Linked DNA regions of Homo sapiens: regions 1, 2, 4, 5, 6 and 7 are each linked to region 3. Evidence: promoter capture Hi-C in 16 types of primary human blood cells and fetal thymus (Javierre and others, 2016). All regions are on one chromosome and are shown on one strand. The core of a region is centred on a gene start or on the middle of the fragment in contact, and the rest is flanking DNA. Distances in the headings are between cores, read along the strand shown.

Region 1 (3,052 bases), core at 382-2,881, 460 kb after region 3:
CAACTCATGTTACACTCATGCTCAGATTTTTTTAATGACTCTAAATCACCCACAGAATCAATATTAGCTTGGAGTGTGACATGAGACCCCACACAATGTGACCTCTGCTTAGCAGCCCAGACAGAATCATCTCCTGGGACTGACCTCATGCACATGCTCTTGTCTAGCTACACAGGAGGACTCTTCTGGGAACCCACCCTGGTCTCTCATAGATTGAGGTATTGTAATTTCTCCCCATCCCCACTTACTCTCTTCCTCTCTGCCTGGCCTGTCCTCTTCCTGCTGTCTCTCTGGAAGAACTGTTACTCATCCTTCCAGTTTCCACTGAAGCGCTGCCTCCTCTGTGAAGCCTCCTTGGATTTCCCTCAGACAGACTCAGACACCCCTTCCTAGATTCCCACTGGATAACTTGTTCCAGCCTTTGTTGTAGCAATTACCTCATTGCATCCTAATTGTTCATTTGCATGTATGTCCCTCTCCAGATCATGAGTAAGGCAGAGCAATATCTAATTTGACTTCCTTCTTCCAGAGCAGCATTTGCAGTATATACAATAACTGCATTGAATGAATAAATAGATCTGCCTGGCCCGTATCCATGCAGCTTTTGCCTCCCGCCTTACTTTTGCTCCACCTCCCAATTCCTCTGGCTTGGGGGTCTTCTCTGGGTATGTCACCTGGGGGCTGCTTCAGTCTTTCCTCCCAGCTGGTTTCGTATCTTTCCTTAGTCATTTTATGTTCCAGACATTCCATGACAGCAATCAAGGCAGAGAAAGTTTCTATTTGTTAACTGGGGCTGTTCAGATTCCCCTGCTTGTTCCCCTTGAAGTTCCTACTACATGGTAAAAATCACCTTCTTGATTCTTTCCTTTCTTCCTCCCTGTTTTTCTTTTGTCCCTGTCTCTAAACCCTTCTCAGGAACTGTGGCTATTCCCCACCAGGTCAGGTTGGTCTTTCCCAGAGGCCCTCTTGCTATGCCTGTTCAGCTCTGTGATGAGGCAGGGGGCAGAGATTACAGTCTTTACCCTCTGCTGGGGCACTTTCTTCTAGAGAGGACCCTGTCCTATGGTGAAGTCGGGGCAAGTAAGCAGCCATATGGGATAAACCCTGTGCCTAGAAATGTCTGGAGCAGGTTTAGGAGTCCCTTCATGGTATAGCAAATTCCTGCATATCTAATTCAAAGTAAATATTACCTTCCCCAAGGTCAAGTAATAAGCTTCTTTTATTATTGAATGATAAATTCTTAAAAATCACTTCCACCTTGAAACATCGTTTGATGACTCATCAGCACCCTTCTACCACCCCCTACTCCCCATGAAGTTGATTATCACATTTGGTCACGTAACTAGGGTCTATATCTATTATAATGTCTATTAGCAATAGAAGTTTCAATTCTCTCCATCTAAACTATATGTTGGTATGTTTACATTTTTGTCTCTTCTCCTTCACTTATCACAGCTGTAAAAAAGTAGACATTACTATCCTATTTTACATGAAGAAACTCAGGATCAGAAAAATTAAGCAAAGTGCCCTGTTACTAGTATTAGAATGTATGTTTCAGTCTTTCTGATGCCAAAGTCCTTGAAATTTCCACAAAACCATATTTCATCTCTTTTTAGCAAATGATAGTCTGTTTCCCCTGTCCATAAGTGATGCCTTCTTTATTGCCTCCCACTGTTGACTCATGTGTACATGCACACACACACAAACACACACATGCACACATGTACACACACACCCTAGATTTCAACTTCTTTTGGGACAGTGTCTTATTCTCCCTTGTTTCCCTCCTAAGTGTCCTACAGTTCATAAGTTTACCAAATATTTGCCCAGTCGATATTCATATTTCCCTTAGTCATGAAATCAAGGCTTAGATGGACCATAGAAGTAATTGTCCTGTTTAGACAAGAAGCAAAAATAAGGACATACTATGGGTATAAAATAACCACAAAAAAACAAAAAACACAAATTTTACAGGTCTTCAGAGTTTCCCCAAGGTAAAATAAATTAGGACAATTTCTCCAAACATCATGCCTCCTGCTCAAAGCTTAAAGCCAGACGGTAACATCCTGGCTACTCCCATCATCTCCCACTGCAGGATTATCTTTTTCTGAAGCATCATATTTATTCTCCTTACCCATAGGAGATTATCTCCCTGCATAATTTATAATTTTAGATTGTGAGCTCATGTCCTTTGGGCTTTATCTGGGGAAATCTGTGCAGCTTGGGCTGAGAGTGTGTTTCCACAGAGAGCTTTTATGTTGGCTTCTGGCAGATATCACAGGGCTAGTACCAGCCTGAGACTTTTTAAAATATTAATTTCCCAGGTTAGTATAAATTTTAACTCAAGGCCAGGCATGGTGACTCATGCCTGTAATCCTAGCACTTTGGGAGGCCGAGGTGGGTGGATCATCTGAGGTCGGGAGTTCAAGACTAGTCTGACCAACATGGAGAAACCCTATCTCAACTAAAAATACAAAATTAGCTGGGCATGGTGGCACATGCCTGTAATCCCAGCTATTCGGGAGGCTGAGGCAGGAGAATCGCCTGAACCCAGGAGGTGGAAGTTGCTGTGAGCTGAGCTTGCGCCATTGCACTCCAGCCTGGGCAACAAGAGCAAAACTCCGTCTCAAAAAAAAAAAAAAAATTTAACTGAAAACCCACTTACTTATAAAGTGTTGGCGGAGACATTTTCCTCCCACCCACTACATAGGCCAAAACAGATAAGCTTTCATGCCTTCTCCTAGAACTAGTGGGCAGATTTTTTTTCTTAGCCATCCTTTCATTGAGGAAATAGCATTTTGAGTCCCTACAGAAACTCGGTTTTAATTTTCTGCCTCTCTTGAGACCAAGGCCTTTTTTCTGTCCCTAATGTCATTTAATCCATAGACCTTTGACTACTATGACTTCTAAGGCCCTCTCCCCACCCCTTTTGGCAGCTTTGTCCACAGCGTATGCTTAGAGTTATAGGTTTCCCTGGCTTGGCCTTTGGGAATATTTCCTTCTTTTGAGCTCAGCTATAAAGAAAAGTACATTTGTTGGGCATGTGCAGTCC
Region 2 (3,146 bases), core at 124-2,623, 350 kb after region 3:
CACACTTACACATTCTAGAATAGACAGGAAGCACCAACGCATCCAAAAGGTTGTTAATCTTTCCTTATTTTTAAAAATGAAACTTTATTCAAATACCTGTTCTCTCCTCCAAACTGTTACTCTGGACCATCAAAAGGCCAACAGTGTTGGTTTGAATTAAAACGTCCACTGAAGTGTGACCCTCCCTTTGCTGCCCTTCACTTACTTTAGTATTCCAATCTTCAGCTGTAGCCCGTGTAGCACTTCTGTAACACCATAGACATCAGCAAGCAGGTGATGTGTAGAAACTATCTTTTTGGCATTGAGATGAGAATAATTTTCTTTGAAAAATGATAACCCGCACATTCTCCCATTATTCAACCACTCCTTATCATAACGATATTTTGCACTCCACCTCTGACCTGCAGATGAAGTTGATATTAAATCACAGAGGACTGCACTTACTCGGATTTTTCATCAACTGCTAACCTACTAACGTTGCTCATTAAGCAAGGCAAGCTCTAGCACTAGGAGCAGATTCAAAAAGAGTAAGACAGCGTTCTGAGGAACTGGTGCAGGAAGAGCTCCTCCACACCTTCAGCGTTCCTGCCCACCCAGGAGAAGAAACACCATTAAGGACATGGTCAGTGGCAGATGACACTTGCAAAGGGAACCTTGAGTGTACTGCTTTCAATGTTTTGTAGTCATCATCTGTCCTCTAAAAAGGCTCAAAGGGCTGGATAAAAACTAGACAGGGGTTATTTCTCTCACTAACCTTTGTTTTGAACTGGATGAACCATAGAGTTCTAGCTGAGTGAATAGGAACCCTTCCCCCATGTCTGTGATTTCACAGAATCCTATGAAATTCCATATCCTTCATGTTAATATAAATTAGATCCTATTACAACCAGGTGTTTATTGCCTGTGTCCCATACTATACTACTAGCCAGTTGAAGGCATGGTTTAAATCAATCATCTCACCACAGTGGCAAATAGAAGCCATCCAGTAAATGCTTCTGAATAAATAACAAATGTCTACATTTGTTATTGAATAAATACAATGAATAATGAACACTATAAATGTTGGTGAATGAACAAATGTCTACATTCATATGGCTGTGAATAATTAATTCTCTTGCTTCTTACTGTGACTTTTTTGTGACTTATTGTGACTTTTTTCTTTTTTTCCAATAGTCATGGGACCAATTCACCACATGCCTATTATTTGAGAAAACCTAGTTATTTCCTGCCTGGAGGCTGAAGTTAAATTCAATATGCAGAATATGCTATCTGAAGATCCTCTAGCATAGAAGAAGGCACCAAGTAGACAGCATGGTGGATTGAGAGTCAAAAGGCATAGATTTCATCTCAGTCTGCCTCATCAGTAAAATAAAGGCATCACAGGTAGTGTTCTAAGACCCCACCTGCTCTACAATGAGTCGAATATGCAGAACTGCCAGGTCAGTAGCATGCAAGTTCATAATGCAGATCTACTCCGATTGCCACAAATAAGCCTAGCTAGAAATGGATACAGAGGAACAGAGGCTAATTAATTCTTCTCCAGGAAAAAGTCACACCTCTTCCCTTCCAGTAGGATAGTAATTTTGTTGATAAATATATGCTAATGTATTTGTCTAAGTAATCAATGTGGAAAATAAAAATGTAACAGTGAAAAAATATTTTAAAATTTTAATACGGAAGTTGAGTCTAATTGACCAAGAAGTACAGTGAGTCCTCACTAAGGGTAATCAATAGGTTCTTGGAAACTGGCACACTGAATAATGAAATGAATTGTACTATAAGCTAATTGATACATACAAGTTAAGTTCCTATGGCATATAGCATGCTGTTTCATTTGGAGTCACAGTTTCCAAGAACCTATCAATGACATCATGTGAGAACTTGCTGTAGTGGTGGTGAACACAGCTGATACACTCTGGAATCCTGGAGGAGACATAGAGGCATCCTGGCAATCAGCACGGCACAGAAAGCCTTACCTGGTGGGTCCCGGCAGATATAGCAGATGTACTGCTCTGGAATGCTCTCCTCCAGCAGCCCCATGCACACGCTGTGTTGCCAACACAAGCACTCTTCACACTGCAGAAAACAGAGGAGTATTACAGTCACCCGATCCTCACTAGGAATAAGCTAGGAATAAGGATACATGCCCTTTCTTTGAATTGGCTGGCTTGGCTTCTTACTGCCACTATCAGTTTCATACTTATTTGACACAACAAAATCAAGCCATGACTTAAGATGAATTTTATCTTTGAAATGGTCAACTACTTCACGAACTTTCTTTTGTTGCACCTATTAGAATATGCTTTGATCAAGTACTTAAGTCATAATTTCTCTAATTTAATTCTCACTGATATTTAGGCAATCATATCATAAAACTCTTAAAATAGTTTATTAAAATGCGGAAATTAGGGGAAAAAAAAGTTGGTAGCAGTGTCTATACCAATGATCTCTTAAAGTACTACTTCTGTGGTGAAGTTATAAATTCATAGTTCCCTCCATAAAACCACAGAAAAATGGGAGGAAAAAAGATTACTCTTTCTTCATGCTCTCAACTAACATCTCCAAATCTTCTGGCATCACAAAATTTGGGTTATGCTTTCCTTTTATCTTAAAGATATCTTTCCTACAAGAAGAAGTTGTTAACTCCTGCAACAAAATTTTTCCTTTAAGAATACTGGACATTTTTATGTTTTAATCACTGACAAGTGAAGGGTGACTATAAATTATTATTATAATAATTCACATGAATGCAGATGAGGAAGAGAAAGGTTGCTGTAGCCTGCCCTTTCGTGTGAGGGTTTACCACCCTAATCACTCTAAAGAGTTTCAGTTTGAAGGCACTGAACTACATACCCTAGAAAAGGAAGAGAGATGCTAAAATAAGAACATTGTCTACTTTACTTAATGAGGAAATCTCCTAATCATTACTATGGGTATTTTCCACACAGTAAGTTAGAAACCACTATCTTCAGTAGTACAGTCAGTAAAGAAATAAAACACCGTGATGCATTTGCTGAGCACCTGAAACAACTAACTCATTATAGGGAAGAGAGGTTAACCAATTACCTGGATCATGAAGCCATTCTCCTCATCCATCTCACAAATACATCGCACAATTTCATTAAGAGCATCATCCTCATCCTGAG
Region 3 (2,962 bases), core at 354-2,853:
AAATAAACAGCGACTTAGCTCCTTCTGGGCACTCCTGTAGGACACAGTCAGCTTCCCCTAAGTAGGAATGGTTAGAAATTGGCATCAGAAGATCTAAGTTTGGGCCCTGGCCACTTATTAATGAGGAGCTCCTGGGCAAGTCCTTTACTTGCTCTCACTTTCCATTTCTTTCATTTGTGAAATGGAGCTGATAACTTTCTGGTAAGGTGGTTCTGAACCAACTATAGTCAGGCACCATGCCAGGCGTGAGGATTTAACCAAGATGAAACAGACCCACTCCCCGCCATCATTACACACACCGAGGCATTGAGAGGAATTCCTATTTCCCAGGTCTCAGTTTGCTGTCGGCTCTCGGCCTCAGTTCTGGCTGAAGCAGACCTAGAGTCTGATTCTGGCAAGTGGTTTAACCCCAACACACGGTTTCCTTATCTGTGAAGGGGGCTTCTTAACCCCCAAGGAAGCCATCAGTGTCATTTGGGGATAAACACTCTTTTGCCATCACCCCTCCGTCTCTAGGCTGTTCTGCCAGGAGCAGGTCCTGCCCTGGGCTGTGGAATCTGGGGCTCAGAAGCTGCCAGGTACCCACCTCCTGCCCTCCTTGCACTGCCTGCCTCTGCCTTTTCCTCACCATGCCTGGCCCTAGCAGGCTGGCTCTACACGGTCACATATGTGACTCCCCTGGCTTTTGGAGGTGCAGACCTTTGTCCCTTCCCCTTGGTGTACCCTGGGGTGCAGGTGGAAGAGAGAGAGACTCTGGGGTGCCCACATCACCCCCACCCTGGAACAGCAGGCTTCATAGGCAGGACCCAAGTATGGACACTCTGCAGACTGCAGAGGGCTGTGCAGACCGGAGGTGACAGCAGTTGGGGTTAGACATCACCCTGAGCACTGTTTGCTCAATAAGGAGCTTTTGTTGAAAGCTGGCATTTTTCTTTCCAATTTTTTTTGGCTTTTTCCATCTCCCATCTTCGCAGCATCTCCAATGCTTGGAGTCTTGGAGTTTTCAAACTCAGAGACTCTAGAAGTCACCTAACAACTTCGTCGCTTTACGCTGCTCCTGGAGGGTGAGTGACCCACCCGAGGCCACACAGCCAGGTTAGGCGAAGACGGGTCTGGAGCCCGGGCCCCTGACTCCCAGTTCTGCTGAGGGCCCCGTTCTTTCTGCACTGTTTCAGGTGGGGAGAGAGGGCAGGCTGGACCTGTGCAGTTTGTTTCCCCAAGTGTCGCACCGTCCTCCTCACCCTGCCAGCTTCAGCCAACCTGGGCAGCTGACTCCTCACCCTGGGCTCTGTCCTTGCCCTGTAAGTGGCCACCTTCCAGCCCCAAACCTTCCTGGCCCTTTTCATCCTGCCCACCAGCCCCCATGTAGCAGGACCCAGTAGAGAAGGGAGCTGGGTCTCCCTCTGAGCCCCTCCAGGCAGGACTCACCGTGGCCAGGACGGTGCTGGCGGCTGCTGCTGTCACTGCTGCCAGCGTCCAGGGCAGGAACCACCTCATGCCTGGACGTCAGTGGCACAGGCATCGACCGAGCAGCCCAGAGGATCCGACCACCTCTCGGGGGAGCTGGGCCCAGACTGGCCGGCCCATCAGGAGCACCAGATATGCCTCTTCCGCAGCCCTTGGGGGGTTTTATTAAAGCAAGATCTGACGTCAGGGTGAAGGACAAACCCTGCATTTTCCTCTGAAAAAACTTTTCCTGCCTCTCTCTCTTTTTTTTTTTTCTTTCTTCCCTCTGTCCCCACCTCCAGCCTGAGCTTGGCCAGCCTCCCCAGCTCTGACAGTTCTTAAAGGGAAAGTTACAAGGCTATGACTTCACACTAGGGTGTGAAATTCTCACAGAGGAGCTGGGGTCATCCTGCCTAGGTCTTTCACTACTGTAGGGAGGGGGGAGCATGGGAGGGTGCAGGATGTCCGAGGAGATACTGTTACCCCAGGCAGGCGGGTGTGTGGGCTTTGAGAGGGCTCCCAGTGGGAAATCAACTCCCTGTCATTTCTTCAGGCTGCTCCTACTTCTGGTTTTCTTTTTCCTTTTCTTTTTCTTTTTCTTTTCTTTTCTTTTTTTTTTTTTTTTTTTTTTTTTTTGAGACAGAGTCTCGCTCTGTCGGCCAGGCTGGAGTGCAGTGGCGCGATCTCTGCTCACTGCAACCTCTGTCTCCCAGGCTCAAGCAATTCTCCTGCCTCAGCCTCCTGAATAGCTGAGATTACAGGCATGTGCCACCACACCCAGCTGATTTTTGTATTTTTAGTAGAGACGAGGTTTCACCATGTTGGCCAGGCTGGTCTCAAACTCCTGACCTCAGGTAATCCGCCCACATCAGCCTCCCAAAGTGCTGGGATTACAGGCGTGAGGCATTGCGCCCAACCCTACTTCTGGTTTTCATTTGCCCTCTTGCACTCCCCTCTACCTAGCTGCAAGCGAAAGAGGTGGCTTTCAGTCCACCCATCTAGAGATGATAGGAATTCACAAATAAAATGAGCTCTGAGGCTCAGGTTACAGCATCACCTTCATGACACGTGAAAGCCACGGTAACGCATTTGCTGTTTGCCGTCTCTGCTCATTGGTCAGAAGCCGTTTGGTGCTGGAGCTGTCCCCACGTGTCTCTGGATGCTTGCTATCCCTGGGGGGTTGGGTTTCCTGGCCTGTACCCTTATTGCACTGCTGCCACTGAGTCTCTTCCTTGGGCAAGAAAGGAGATGGGATGTCTTCTATGGGCTGTCCTAGTCCAGCCCTGTGCTCCCCATGGGGACCGCTGCCACAGCCTCCTGACTGATACCCAGCCTCCCTGCCCACCTTCTACCATCCACACATCTCAGAGCAATCCTTGAACTAGCGTCATGTATAGATCATCTTCTGGATACAACTGTCCAAAGCCTGCCCATCACACAGCACAGAGTCCCCAGTCCTGGCGTGGCCCCTGGGCCAGCCAGCTCCCTGTACACTTCTTCCTCTCTCCCTTTCGTG
Region 4 (3,256 bases), core at 212-2,711, 290 kb after region 3:
TGACTTACTCTCACAGGCGGGCTGGCCCCCGGTCACGCGCGTCCCAGGCACCTCTTCTCCGCTGTCCATGACACACCAGCAGCTGCCCTGGGCCTGGTCACATTGCACTGGGGAAAAGCCCCCATCCTCTGCCCTGCAGGCTGGGACATAGCCTGGGCTGACTCTCCTGGAGAGGACTCCACTCTTGAGCACATTGCAGAGGCTTGGGCCTGACACAGAGACAAGCCAGATGGGCTGGGGAATCAGTGCCCACTCCCTGCTCAGATGCCCAATCACCCTCCTCACCACCCACGGCCACCCTCAGCCCACCTGCCTGCAGGGCCTTCCAGGGGTCTGGGGCTGCCTCCCCACCAGGAGGTTGAATGACAACAAGGCAAACACTGGACCTGGCTCAGCTCTGTACTCTCTCCCCTCCACTGCCTGCCCTCAAGCAGCTTAGAGTCTTAAAGGAGAGTTAACAAGTACGTGAGCAGGTACAGTTCTGTGAAATAAAGGCAACAATAGTGCAGTGTAGGAGCCTACAGAGGAAGAGAGAGGCCAGCAGAGGCTTCCTGGAGGGACAGATGTGTGGTCTGAGCAAGAATTTGTCAGGTGGGGAGGGGATAGACGGACATATTGCAGGTGGCACAGCCAGAACGCGTGAAGGCACAGGTGGAAGAAAGCGTCTTCCTTTTTCCAAAGTCTGACCAGAATTTATCACAACTGCACCCTGAAGCACAACTGATGGAGAAGAAAGAGAAGTCGAAGAAGACACACCAGCACCAGATGCAAAGGGCCCTCGAGCCATTCCAGGGAGCTCAAGCACGGCCCCGAAGATGATGGGAGCATTTATGGTGTTTAGGCAGAAGAGGGACATCTGCACATTGCCCTTTGGGGACATCACCTGGGCTTCACTGCGGAAACCAGACGGCAGGGCCACACATCCGGCCAGCCCTCCAAAGCCCTAGGGCCCCCTTTGATGGGGATCAATGCTGGTTTGCACTTCTCAGACACAAAGCACAGCCTACTCCCTCCCACGTTTGCTTCTCCCAAGAAACTGCAGAGATGGGGGAATATTGCCCCGATTTCATAGATGAGAAAACTGAGGCATAGTGAGGTCAGCAGCTGTGCCCCCACAGCTATGGAAGCAGTAGAGCTGGGACACGAAGCCAGCTCTTTGGACTCCACGCTCAGTGCCCCACAGAAGAGGTGAGAAGCCATGCCAGGAGGGGCTGCTACTCACACTGGGCACTGCTGCTCGAGCCAGGCCGCAACTCTTCTCCTGATGCAGGGTCCACACACCAGGTGCCAGCCCCCGATGCCTGCAGCCTGGCATACTCTCCTGTCTGAGACAAAGCCGGGGTCATGTCAGTCACTGTGGGCAAGATGCTCTAGTGGCCAACCTGCTGCTGGCAGATGTCAAAAGTGTCCCTTCCAAAACAACAGGTGATGGCTTCTCCAGACGGAGAGATGTGGAGGTGGGGAGAGGTGCTCTCCTGTTCCCAGCCCTTTACGTGCATCATTTGATTGACGGCTACAACAGCCTCATGAGGCATGGACCACAGTTCTCCCGCTTTTGGGTGGGTGAAACTGAAGATCTCTCAGAGAGGGAAAGTGGGGCAACAACTCACAGCTGGTGAGTGAGAGGCAGGTCAGGTCCAGGCCCAAACCCATCTAGACCCAAAGCCTAGCCATGCTCCTGGACCAGCCTCACTAATTCCAGAAATGATTTTGACAAGTACTAGAGTCCTCCACAGGAACTGGCCTTGCAAACCACACCTCAGAGCGCCTCTAAGCTCCACTCTGTAATCCCTTCTCCCACCATCGGACATTGTGGCTTCTACCTCTCCTTCTCTCTGTGTAAGCATCAGTGCCCAGGAAGGAGAAGCAGAATTGCATTCCAACAGTAGGTGCTTTCCAGCCAAGATTAAAAAACTAAACAATAGTGACTAATTTCTCTATGAAACTATGCTTAAGTGGGTCCATGTTTACAGTACCAAACAATAATAAGGAAACTTTTGCTTAGTACTGTACAGTTTCATGAGTTTCAACACTGCTGTTTCATCTGCTTCTCATCAAGTCTTTGGAAGCTGAGCAGAGTGGGTGGTGGTGTTCCTACCATCCTATTTTAGAAAAAGGACACTAAGCCCAGAGATTTCCCTCACTTGGCAAGTAAGTGGTTAAGTTCTGGGCATAAATTCGTTCTCTAGGAGCTCTACATCAGTACTTCGCTGAATTATGAATTGTTACAATCACCCCGGGAGCTAGGGAGGGAAAGAAGCTGGTGTCCTCTGTGTGTGTTGAGAACCTGGGACACTGTAAGCATAGGGCCTTGGCCAAGATGCCTTTAGGAAAAACATGATAGCATGTTTTGTTTATTTTTCAAAGAGTTCTTATGAAAGATATTTTCTTGGAGTCTCAAAACAAACCTAGCATTAGCTAGGACAAAATGTGGCCTGATCTTATGATTAAACAAAACAAACTGGGACACAGAAAAGGTAAGTAAATAGCCCAAGGTCACAGAACCAGGTTCTAGCAGGCCCAGACAAACACCCAGGCTGAGAACATCATGTGAGCTTTTAACTAAGCTGAACGTATTGAACAAAAAGAAAAATCATCTCTGACCAGCGGGGACAAGTCCCGGCTCCAATCCTGTGCTTCCAGACCCTTACTTCTAGGCAGGCTGGGACGAACAGGTCTTTTGGAGATGGGTTTTCTTGGGATCTAGCCTGTTTCCAACTGGAAAGCAGCCCACTGGTTCGAGATTTCTCGCAGGTTGTCGGGCCTGTGGGAGAGAGAGGTGCTTGTAAAGGACTGGTCGTGGGAGCCAAGAGAAAGAGGGGATCCCAGGCTGACCCCACCTTTAAGGGTCATGAGCCTGGGTGAATGCAGGTGCTCTTCATAGAGAGGTAGAATCTCTGAGGACAAAGACTCATGTGGGACATGCCAGCTTTGAGATGTCAAGTGGACTGTGGATTACACATGGCTGAGCCTCAGAAGAGGGGTTGGGGCTGCAGGTTCAGAGGCGAGGCGGTTGCTGAAACTACAGGAGTGGCTGAAATTGCCCAGCAGATGTACAGAGGGGGAGAACCAGGGCTCCTTCAACAGTCTCAGCTGTTTCCTTCCACCTGCAAAGCTGGGAGCCTTCCAACTAGGAAGTGCCAAGGTCAGCGCAAGCTTGCAGGCCTGGGGACTTGGGAAATGCGTCTGGCTGCACCCGGGACCTGGCTGAAGGGCTGGGCCATGGAGTCTCCAGCGGTTAGGCAACCACAGCTGA
Region 5 (3,259 bases), core at 2-2,501, 330 kb after region 3:
ACCTATCTTGTCCGCTGCCACTTCCTCAAGTGTCTCCGTCAAGTCATTCTGCCATGTGACCAACAGTTCAGACATGTACACTATCCTGTTTTGCCTGGCCCCTTCAATGGCTCTCATATTAGTGTGCCTCACTTTAGAGCCATCATTCTGTAAATTTTTCGGGCATGTTTCCTTGGGTCATAAATAGCATCTGTATCTCCACCTCTGCATGAAGATGGCTGCCTCACCTTGAAACTCACTAAAACTACTTTGAGTACTCTGTATATTTGGTCCAATCTTATTACATATGTCTAGGTTTTCTGTAAGCATCCCATATAGTAGCCCATTCTTCATGGGATGGTTCCCACTTACTGAGCTATTTGTTGTTTTAAGATGGAACTTCTCAACTGTTGGTTGATCCTAGTTCTCTCCTTGAAGAAATCCAACAAAAGAGCCAAGATCTTCCAAGATCTGAGTGCAGTGTGGTCCAAAATTTCCAAGTTTGTTTTGATTTGCGAAAATTAAGATGTTTCTGCTTTCTCTAGTGTCTACTTTCAGAGCAATTGAATTCCCTGTGCATCTCCACTTCCCACTTGTATCAGCCTACCCAGGCCTTCAAAGCCCTATTTTATATTTAAATCTGACCAGTCTGCCTTCACAGATTGCACAGTTTCTCCAAAGCAACACTCTCTTCTATCTTCCTTCATTTCATTTTCATTCTTTCACGGCTTCTTTTTCTCATGACTGCATTTCCTCCTTGATTCACTGAGCCAGCCTGATTCCTAGAGACAGTGTATTGCAAGGATTAACTTTAAATTGCCTGTGGGTTTGTAATAATTTCACTGAATTTTTTTCTTTCTCAAACTAAAAAGATAGCATATTAAAATTATCCTTTCATATTCCTTTTTCAGAAATAGAAAGAAATTTGAAGTTTTTAATTTTTTTAAATTAATAGACTTTACAGTTTTAGATTTACAGAAAATTGAGCAGATAGTACAGAGTTCCCATATACCCTCCTTCCCCATGCAGTTCTCCCTACTGTTCACATTTTATATCAGTGTGGTGTATTTGTTACAATTAACCACTATTGGTGCATTCTGAACTACAATCCATAGGTTGCATTTTCACTCTTGTCTCATATAGTTTTTCTTTAACTTTTCATTTTGAAATAATTACAGACTTACCCAAAGTCGCAGTAGTAGTACAAAGTTTCTATATACCCCTTAATCAATTTCACTTAATGTTAACATCACATCAGAATAATACTATTAACTAAACTGAATACTGTAATAGAATTTCACCAATTATTGCACTAATGTTCCTCTTTCTGTTCCAGGGTCCAGTCCAGGATTTAACATTTTATTTGGCTGTAACATCTCCTTGGTTTCATCATAATCAACAATTTGATGTATATGTGTTCTTTAAAAAAAATTTTTAAAAGACTTTGGTGAGATAACTCACATACCATACAATTTGCCTATTTAAAGTGTATTCAACAATTTAATAGCTGTTGGTACAGCTATTAAACAGCTTTTGGTACCTTTACATAACTTTGCATCCATCACTATAAATTTTAGAATGTTATTCTCAAAAGAATCCCCCACCCTTTAGCCATCATCCTCCAATTTCCCCATTCCCCACCCCGCCACAGCCCTAGGTAACCACCAATCAATCCAGTTTCTGTCTCTATAGATTTTTCTGTTCTGGAAAATTCATATAAATTGAATCATACAATATGTGGTCTTTTGTGATTGGCTTCATTCACTTAGTATGAGGGTTTCAATGTTCATCTATGTTATAGATGTGTTGTAGCATGTATCAGTAATTCATTTGTTTTTATTGCTGAATAATATTCCATTATGTAGATACACTAGATTTTATTGATCCATTTATCAATTGGTGCACATTTATGTTGTTTCTGCTTTTTGGCCATTATGAATAATATTGCTATGAACATTTGTAAATAAGTTTTTATGTAGACATGTTTTCATTGCTCTTGGGTACATCAATATCAGACAGAACAGATTTTAAGACAAGGAGTACTACTAGACACAAAAAGTCATATTTAATAACAATGAAAAGGTTAATATGCCAGGATATAAAAAATTGTAAATACACACACACACACACACACACACACAAACTACAACAAGAAAGACCCAAAAAGCACAATATAAAAATTGATTTAATTGAAAAGACAAATAGACAACTCAATCATTTTAGCTGATAATTTCAATATCTCTTTCTTAATAGTTGATATACCAACTAGAGAGAAATCAGTGAAGATATAGCAGACCTGAGCTAAACTCTTAACCAAGTTGACCTGATACGTATAGAACACTTCACATAACAATAGCATAATACACATTCTTTTCAAGTGCACATTTAATATGCTAGGCATTAAACAAGACTTAATAAATTGAAAAGGACTAAAATTATATAAGAATATTCTCCAACAATATTGGAATAAAATTAGAAACAATCAACAGAAGAAATATGAGAAATACCCATGTGCTAGGAAATTAAACATTTCTAAATAATCCATGGTCAATAAGAAATCACAAGATAAATTTAGAAAATACTTAGAAAAACTTAGAAAATAGATATATTTTCACTTAGAAAATATCTCTAACTGAATGAAAATAGAAAGTACAACATGTCAAAAAGTATGATATGCAATTAAGTCAGTGCCTAGAGGGAAATTTACAGCTTTAAATGCCTAGATTCAAAAGAAGAAAGATCTAAAATCAATAATCATAGTTTTTACCTCAAGAAGCTAAAGGAGGGAAAAAAATAAAGGGAAGAAAGAAAGGAAATTCAAGAGCAGAAATTAATAAAACATAATATAAAACGCAACAGAAAAACTAAAATAAAGCAACAACTTCTTGAAAGGGTAACAAAATTGACAAACTTCTAAGTAGACTGAGGATTTGGGGTGAGGGGAAGAAGAGAAAGGAAGGAAGGAAGGTGGGAGAGAGGGAGGGAGAGACAAGCAGCCAATCATAAAATCAAGAATAAGAGACATGACTACAGACTAACCATAAATTAAAAGAATTTTAAGGGACAATTACAAAAACTCACATTAGATAATTGGATGAAATGTACACGTTCCCAGAAAGATGCAAACTTCTAAAATGAGTTCAAAGAAGAAGTGAAAAATCCGAATATCTATACTGATAAAATATTTTTATTTTATCAGTAATCAGTAATTTAAAATCTTCTCCAAATGTGAAGGCCAATCCCAGTGGTTACACTGGTGAATTCTACTACACATTTAAGA
Region 6 (3,288 bases), core at 104-2,603, 370 kb after region 3:
CAATCGATAATATAATTCATGAACACTCTACAGAATATTCACTAAGAAGAGTCCAACTATCTCATCTATGATAGTATCATAGTATCTATGTAAGTATCTATGTAATAAGTAAATACATTTACTTGCATCTACATTTCATTCAAAAACTAAGATGACTTTGAATGACACTGAAGCAAAGCCTGATGCATTTCATCGAATGCTACCCGAAAACTCAGGGGACCTGCTCATGGACATCCTGACGTTACATAAAGGTACACTCTGCATGGCCACGTCAAGCCAACATTCCTATCCATGCTAACTAAGACATGCTGCAATAAAACAGGAAAATGCTCCTTGAAACTTATTTACTAATTTGCTAAAAAATAAAAAAAAAATGAAGATGGGTTACTAAAGGTATTTCTTTTAATACAAGAATAACTTTTTAAAATGGCTCAAAATTATATGCATACAACCTACTAATGCCAATTTTGTCTTCACAGTGGTTACAAACAATAAGTTATCATCTCTAAGGCTATCTTAATTGACGTTTTTAAGCAAAAATAATCCTACATCATAATCTTTTTTTGGAATAAACATAGACTCTATCAAATGCCTGATTAATGATAAGTAAAACATCAACATTGTAGAGCCAAAAGTGACCACAGACATCATCTACTATAATCTCATCATATAGATGAAAAACTGAGTTTCAAGGAAGCAGGAAGAGAAGGCAGATGGTTTGTCTCTCCAGAGTTTTTAAGAGGCTCTACCAGAGGCCTCTTGGGGCAATCTTTTGTTCCTTTACACCCAAGAGTACTTTACACCTATTCAGGCACTTAATCTTGCTTTAAATATTTGTATTTCAGTTATTAGCTTTGTGTCCCTTCTAGACTCTAAGTTTCCAGAAGGCAGATTCCACATCTGTTCACACTGTGCTTCCCACCTAAAGAGAATTGTGTTGACAAGGGGCAATAGATAACTGTTGGCCCAAGGTGCCTGTGAGAACCTGAACCAAGAGTATTTTTCAAAAGACCCCTTTTCAAAAAACTTGATTTACTCTATCCTCCCAGATACTAACAGAATTAAGATTTTCTGAGGCTGTATCCTTATCTAAAATTGGCTGGCTCTGTGACAAAGCATCCTGATAGTAAAATAAAAACAAAGGCATCAATTTTTACAAAGATACCAATTACTTGTTTGGTAATGTAGGCAGCAATAGCATTCTTAACAGTGGCTAGACATGTGGGCATCCACCCCAGCAGAAGAACATACGAGAGATTATTGCAAGTTCATTATCTCTATTGGAAAACAATTAAGAAAAGTTGTATATAATAATTGGACTATCTGCAAATCTCATCAATCCTTCAGCATCAAATGCTAAACTCAACAGTGTGAATTTATCTTGCTCCCCCAAAAGTAAAAACCTAACCATGTTGAACAATTTCACAGTTAGCAACTAACACCCTCATCATTCTAAACTCCCCAAGAGTTTCAATTTGACAAAAATAACTCAGAAAATGTCTCTGACGAACTGTAAAGAATGTTTTCAATTATCAGTTTTAAAATTCAACAGTAAGAAAATTTACTTTTATAATATGGACACCAACAAAACATACATGTGTGTATGAGTATGTGCATATATGTACATATGTATCAGAGAAATAAAAACATAAAAACCTGGCACTTTGGCTCTAGATGTAAAAGGACTTGGGGAACAGACAGAAGCATAACAAATACTGCAAAATAGTCAAGAGAGGGTGAATAACAAAAAGGTTAAGGAGAAAAGCATAGAGACCACCGAGAATTTCAATGCACGTGGGACAGGCACACAAGGTTGTAATCAAAAGGTGTTCAGTCAGAACATGACCTAAATTGCACTACTTTCCTCAAAAACTAAAAATTAAGAGGTCACAGAAACAAATGAGAATTTCACCTCCCTCTATTCAAATACTGTGTTCAACCCTCTAATAAATCTTCAGTAATTAACAATTAAAACTATGCATTTCCTTGCTATAATCAATTAAAGTTGACAGCTACTGTACTATTAAGCTCATCATATCCAGATAATCCTTACTCTTCCACAAATTCAAATTATAGCTAAACTCCTCTCTACCTTTTACTTTCCCAGAAAACGATCTTACTTATTTTACTTTTCCAATAGTTACTGCTAATATTTAAAAAGGGAAAGAATATTCGTGTGCCTTCCTCTAAGGTAGTCAGCCACATTGCCACAAATATGCTAGAAATTCTGAAAAGAGGAAGTTAATAATCTGGTTAGAAGCAAAATCATCGAAGTCAAGGACTTCCATGCACAATCACTACATTGATATTTTATGATATATAATCTGTTAATGTAAGACTCTTAGTTATTACACAGTTACTTATATTGGCCTATATTTCAATATTGTTACAAATATTAGAATACTTTTAAAGAAAAATGTAAATATTTTCACATGTACATTTGAAAATAATTTTCCCAATGTATATACAACCTTATAACTTTAACATATTTTTCATATATTCAGTACGGTAACAAATTCCAGATCGTTAAAGAACCGAATAAGACCTTTATCAAAAAAGTATCTCAATGGGTCAATGACAATTTGGAAATCTTGTGGAAAAGTGGAAAAGAAAAATTAATTATCTTAAGGAAAGACCAAGAGTCAAAAGACAATAGATCTGATTTGAGAAACTACAGGAAATGTTTCAAAATCTACAAATATTCACATTTGGGTATTGTTTTATTTTTTTAAACATGATAAAGAATTATCATGTACAAAGTAACTTCAACCTTTATATAAAGATAAAAATTAATAAAAATAAGTATATGTCTCTTATGTTACTTCAATCATTTTATTTCAATACATGCCATCACCAGAAAAGAATAAGTTTCATTTTATGCTTCATCCAAAAAATGGATAAAATGGTTTCAGGGAAGACGCCTGTAAACACAATGATCACCAACACCCTTGGTAACGAATCAACAAACTGCCTTATGTTTTTCTCCAACTCACAACAAACTAAATTCAGACTTCCTTCAAACATCTAGTTCCAACAGTAATTTACCAGAAGTGCATTTGTAACTAGTATTGGCCTTTTTATTTTATGTGTATTCTAGATCAGGTTATAATTCTTAAAAACTTCTAAATAAAACAATGCACCCACATAAGGGAAACATGAATAGATATTATTAGATTTAAAATATCAGCTTGGTAAAATACACATCCAAATGCTTTCGAACTACAATAAATATCACAAAATCATGCAAAAAATGTGTTATTAAGGATGGCTGATTTTACATATTGCACT
Region 7 (3,367 bases), core at 540-3,039, 390 kb after region 3:
TGTTTTCGAGCTCTTTGTAGATAACATAATAGAATATTGCATTAAAAAGGGCACTGTGTTTGAAATCAGAAACTTTGGGTTAAAGGAATCACTTCGCACAGAATGAGTAAAATTTTAAGTCACTGGATTCTCTAAGTTCTGAATTCTTCAAATGTGAAACAGAAATATTAGCCATACCTATGTCAAAGGATCTACTATGAGAATCCAACGAAACAAGGCACACAAAAAATGTTTTGTAAATATTAATAGCAAAGGACCTATAAGCCAACCATTAACACTAGTGAGTCACAACGTATATTTTGTATCAGCACGCCCTCAGGAAGAAGAAATGAGAGAAAAGGCAAGTACTTCTGTTACAAGCTTCCAAATTAAAAATATAATGGCTCAATCTCTCACCCTGTAATTACTACTGCTCTTATTAGGGTAGAAAACCAGAAGGAACAAGGAGGTATCTCATAAAATGAAGGAATCAATCCCCCTCCTATAATATATGTCAGTTTCATAGCTATTTATGTATCAACACTACCATTCCACACAAAATTATGTGGAAGAAGAAAAAACTGTAGGTAGGGAGAAAAAGAGGGGATCTTATTTTGGGCTGATAACATGTCTACCATTACCTTCTTTCCCAGTGAGAAAAATGTCTACAAATACAGTGTTAGAAGGACTACAGCTCACATTGCACCCACTGTAATATTAAAAGCTCTTTAAGGTGCTCAAGCTAAACTCTTAATGCAAGCAGAAGTTTATCCAGTATTAACCAACGGGTTCAAAGTCAAAAACAACAGAATTAAGACTTATTTAGGCTTAAGAATATTAATTACTTCGGAGGTTTGCATATACAAAAGTGTTACTAATGTCACATTTTAGACAGGTTCAGGAAGAGCATTTCCACAGTGCATTAATTTGTTGCACTACTCTTTGCTAGCTTAATTTAAAAATTATCTTTCTAAACAAATTCTCAAAGTACTCAAAATTTAGAAGATATTATACAAGATAGGCCCCCCTTAGCTTTGCCCAAATAACAACTGATTTGGCATATTTCTTTGATGAAGGCAAGTCAAAAGCTTGTTGGGAAAAAGCAACTCATAAAATGAGAGTCATTTATAAAACACAATTCTACAAATATTGTTAACGTTGCTGTGATTAAGAATTATAAAGAAAAAAATGAAAAATTAAAAGAAATATACTACTACCCAAATATTATTTCAGTTGTTTTATATCTTGGCACTGATCTTAATGTTATAATGCATCATAGTGTGACTAAAGAATCACTACTTATTAAAAACAAACATCCATAACATCCAATAAATTTAATTTTTACAAGCTGTAATTTTACCACAAACCAAATTGGCTCAGTGTCCCACTTTGAAAAAACAAAGTTTTAAGGCAATAATATAATGTCAATTCATGAACATCTGATCAACCAGAATAACAAAATAATTGTTTTAAAGCAAAAAAAAAAAAAAAAATTGAGACTTTTGCTTAAGCAGGTATATACAATGTTCCCAACCTTTTAATCAATCTATGTAGTAACCAAGAAATCACACCACTGAATGCTTAAAAGAACACTTTATTTATACATACATGTGGGAAGACACAAAGCCACTTCCTGATCAAAAGCATTTTCATTTTAAATTGCATTTACATATTAATTAGAAGAAATCTGCTTGCTAATCATTTCATAACTAAATTTTTGAAAACCAGGCAATTTAAAACAATCACACTTATTTCTTCATGAATAATTTTTTTAATGTGGTAGATATACATTTCTAGAGCACTAAATGTTTACACTTGACTGAAGCTGACCAGGTAATTTCAATACATTTCAGAATGACAGTTTTCACCGCATGGTATGGAACAAATACGTAGCATATTTCCATATTAGACATTTTTACACACTACTTTCAATTTCTTAAAATTAATTGTAGGTCCAGGTGCTGAAAATCCCAAATAACAGCAGAATAGAAAAGAAAATATTTTAAATTTCTAATGGCACCTTTCTTTCCAGTATTTCAGAAAACATAGCCAACAAATGGAATTGTGGTTTTTACCTCCACCCAAGATTCTCCTTCCAATGCTTACCATCCATTCTTGCTTTGAGCAGTGACAAAGCATACAATACACTGCTTCCATCACATGACTCAGAGAGCCCTATCTGAAACAGCCTACAGAGTGTCAGGTAAGCGCCTTTTAAAGGAAGATGAATGACTATGATTTGTAGAAGGAAAGAAGAAGATAAGAACTCAATGTAAATTTTTATATTAAAAATTTTTAACTTTCTAAATGACATTATATACCAGGAAAAACAAAACAAAATTTTTAAAAAAAAGGCTCTTACCTCACTTCCCATAGACTGGTTACACGATCCAGCTGGGTCGATAGGACAACACCAGCTTAGTGGATGCTGGGATTTCACCTGGAACAGAAACTAGTGACCTATAACTTTAGCAGGTCTAAACCAAAGAAGCAAAAATCAAATGTATAATTTATTTTACAGTCTAAGCTTCCTTTTCTTGCTGCTATTTGGGGCTATCAGCACATAACCCTACAATTAGTTCATTTTTAAAAAATATACATATAAATATATTTTGATCAGTCACCGTTCAAGAAGATAACCCTTTGGGTAGCTAGGAATACTGAACACTCTTACCTGCCCCTTAGCATCCTCGGGCATGGCTTTAATGTGCATTCTTTTTAAACAACGAATTACTCCATCATAAAACTGAACTGTAAATGTTCCTGAAACAGGAGCAAGTCAGAATCATTAGAAAATATAATTCAAGTTTACAGCAACACTTGAAATCTAACAAGTAGTGACTTGTATAGATAAATGCTTTAGGAATGCAAAAACTACAAATGCTCCTGTTAAGGACTCCATCAAGTTTACTTTCTCCCTCCCTCTAAAAACAACTCTGAACTCCTGTTTCCCCTAACAAGTACACAAATTAAGTCTTGATAAGTTAGTTCCATGTAATTCTGATTTTTACTAAGAAATTTTATAATTTATTTTGCAGTAATTTAAATGTTTAGACTCAACATAGCTGACAAAAGTAAAATCATTACTTACAAAAATATATAATATTTCCATAGGCATTACCATTTGCTTTTGAATGTTTCTTTCAAAAGAAGTAATACAGAGAAGGAGCTGATATGCAAAAAAGATCATTTGCCCTGGAAAGGATTATTCCTTGGGCAATAACAACAAACTGGAAAATAAGAATTGTAGTTCCAGACTTTAAAGGTAGAAAATATTTTACAAATCATCTAGATAAAAGTCTTCATAAGTAGCTCAGAACACTGAATTCTAGAGGAAGGCTAAATGCTACACCCAATGGCATTCACCTAAGTGGCAGGCAACACAGCC

What was found. Contacts are between HindIII fragments. The CHiCAGO score rates a contact against its expected background, and 5 or more counts as called.
Region 1: a fragment that was not itself captured here is called in contact with the fragment with the promoter of CCN4 in region 3 in 1 of 17 cell types (activated CD4 T cells); the score reaches 5.2 in activated CD4 T cells.
Region 2: a fragment that was not itself captured here is called in contact with the fragment with the promoter of CCN4 in region 3 in 5 of 17 cell types (activated CD4 T cells, M1 macrophages, non-activated CD4 T cells and 2 more); the score reaches 7.6 in activated CD4 T cells.
Region 4: a fragment that was not itself captured here is called in contact with the fragment with the promoter of CCN4 in region 3 in 12 of 17 cell types (activated CD4 T cells, naive B cells, non-activated CD4 T cells and 9 more); the score reaches 11.7 in activated CD4 T cells.
Region 5: a fragment that was not itself captured here is called in contact with the fragment with the promoter of CCN4 in region 3 in 13 of 17 cell types (activated CD4 T cells, non-activated CD4 T cells, M2 macrophages and 10 more); the score reaches 12.3 in activated CD4 T cells.
Region 6: a contact is called between a fragment that was not itself captured here and the fragment with the promoter of CCN4 in region 3, in 2 of 17 cell types (activated CD4 T cells and M2 macrophages). The highest score is 7.3, in activated CD4 T cells.
Region 7: a contact is called between a fragment that was not itself captured here and the fragment with the promoter of CCN4 in region 3, in 1 of 17 cell types (activated CD4 T cells). The highest score is 5.5, in activated CD4 T cells.

Annotation. Positions count from the first base shown.
Region 1 is chr8:132,729,552-132,732,603 of GRCh38, reverse strand. All of the region lies in intron 5 of TMEM71 (transmembrane protein 71), which reads left to right. Among named protein-coding and RNA genes, the nearest start is that of TMEM71, 30 kb to the left of the region's middle. The HindIII fragment of the contact is 831 bases long and covers 1,216-2,046 here.
Region 2 is chr8:132,836,642-132,839,787 of GRCh38, reverse strand. It overlaps PHF20L1 (PHD finger protein 20 like 1), which reads right to left. Exons shown (of 21, transcript NM_016018.5): 16 at 3,067-3,146; 17 at 1,977-2,076; 18 at 206-401. Among named protein-coding and RNA genes, the nearest start is that of TG, 29 kb to the left of the region's middle. The HindIII fragment of the contact is 4,112 bases long and covers 1-3,146 here.
Region 3 is chr8:133,189,680-133,192,641 of GRCh38, reverse strand. CCN4 (cellular communication network factor 4) reads right to left here and starts at 1,603. Exons shown (of 5, transcript NM_003882.4): 1 at 1,429-1,603. The coding sequence starts at 1,497. RefSeq lists a silencer at 484-731. The HindIII fragment of the contact is 13,274 bases long and covers 1-2,962 here.
Region 4 is chr8:132,898,306-132,901,561 of GRCh38, reverse strand. TG (thyroglobulin) reads right to left here. Exons shown (of 48, transcript NM_003235.5): 14 at 2,652-2,764; 15 at 1,223-1,325; 16 at 9-209. Among named protein-coding and RNA genes, the nearest start is that of TG, 33 kb to the right of the region's middle. The HindIII fragment of the contact is 3,394 bases long and covers 1-3,158 here.
Region 5 is chr8:132,855,106-132,858,364 of GRCh38, reverse strand. No RefSeq gene overlaps it. Among named protein-coding and RNA genes, the nearest start is that of TG, 10 kb to the left of the region's middle. The HindIII fragment of the contact is 7,954 bases long and covers 1-3,259 here.
Region 6 is chr8:132,818,035-132,821,322 of GRCh38, reverse strand. The region is part of intron 12 of PHF20L1 (PHD finger protein 20 like 1); the gene reads right to left. Among named protein-coding and RNA genes, the nearest start is that of PHF20L1, 44 kb to the right of the region's middle. The HindIII fragment of the contact is 8,257 bases long and covers 1-3,288 here.
Region 7 is chr8:132,798,147-132,801,513 of GRCh38, reverse strand. PHF20L1 (PHD finger protein 20 like 1) reads right to left here. Exons shown (of 21, transcript NM_016018.5): 5 at 2,654-2,742; 6 at 2,342-2,419. Among named protein-coding and RNA genes, the nearest start is that of PHF20L1, 24 kb to the right of the region's middle. The HindIII fragment of the contact is 1,439 bases long and covers 1,070-2,508 here.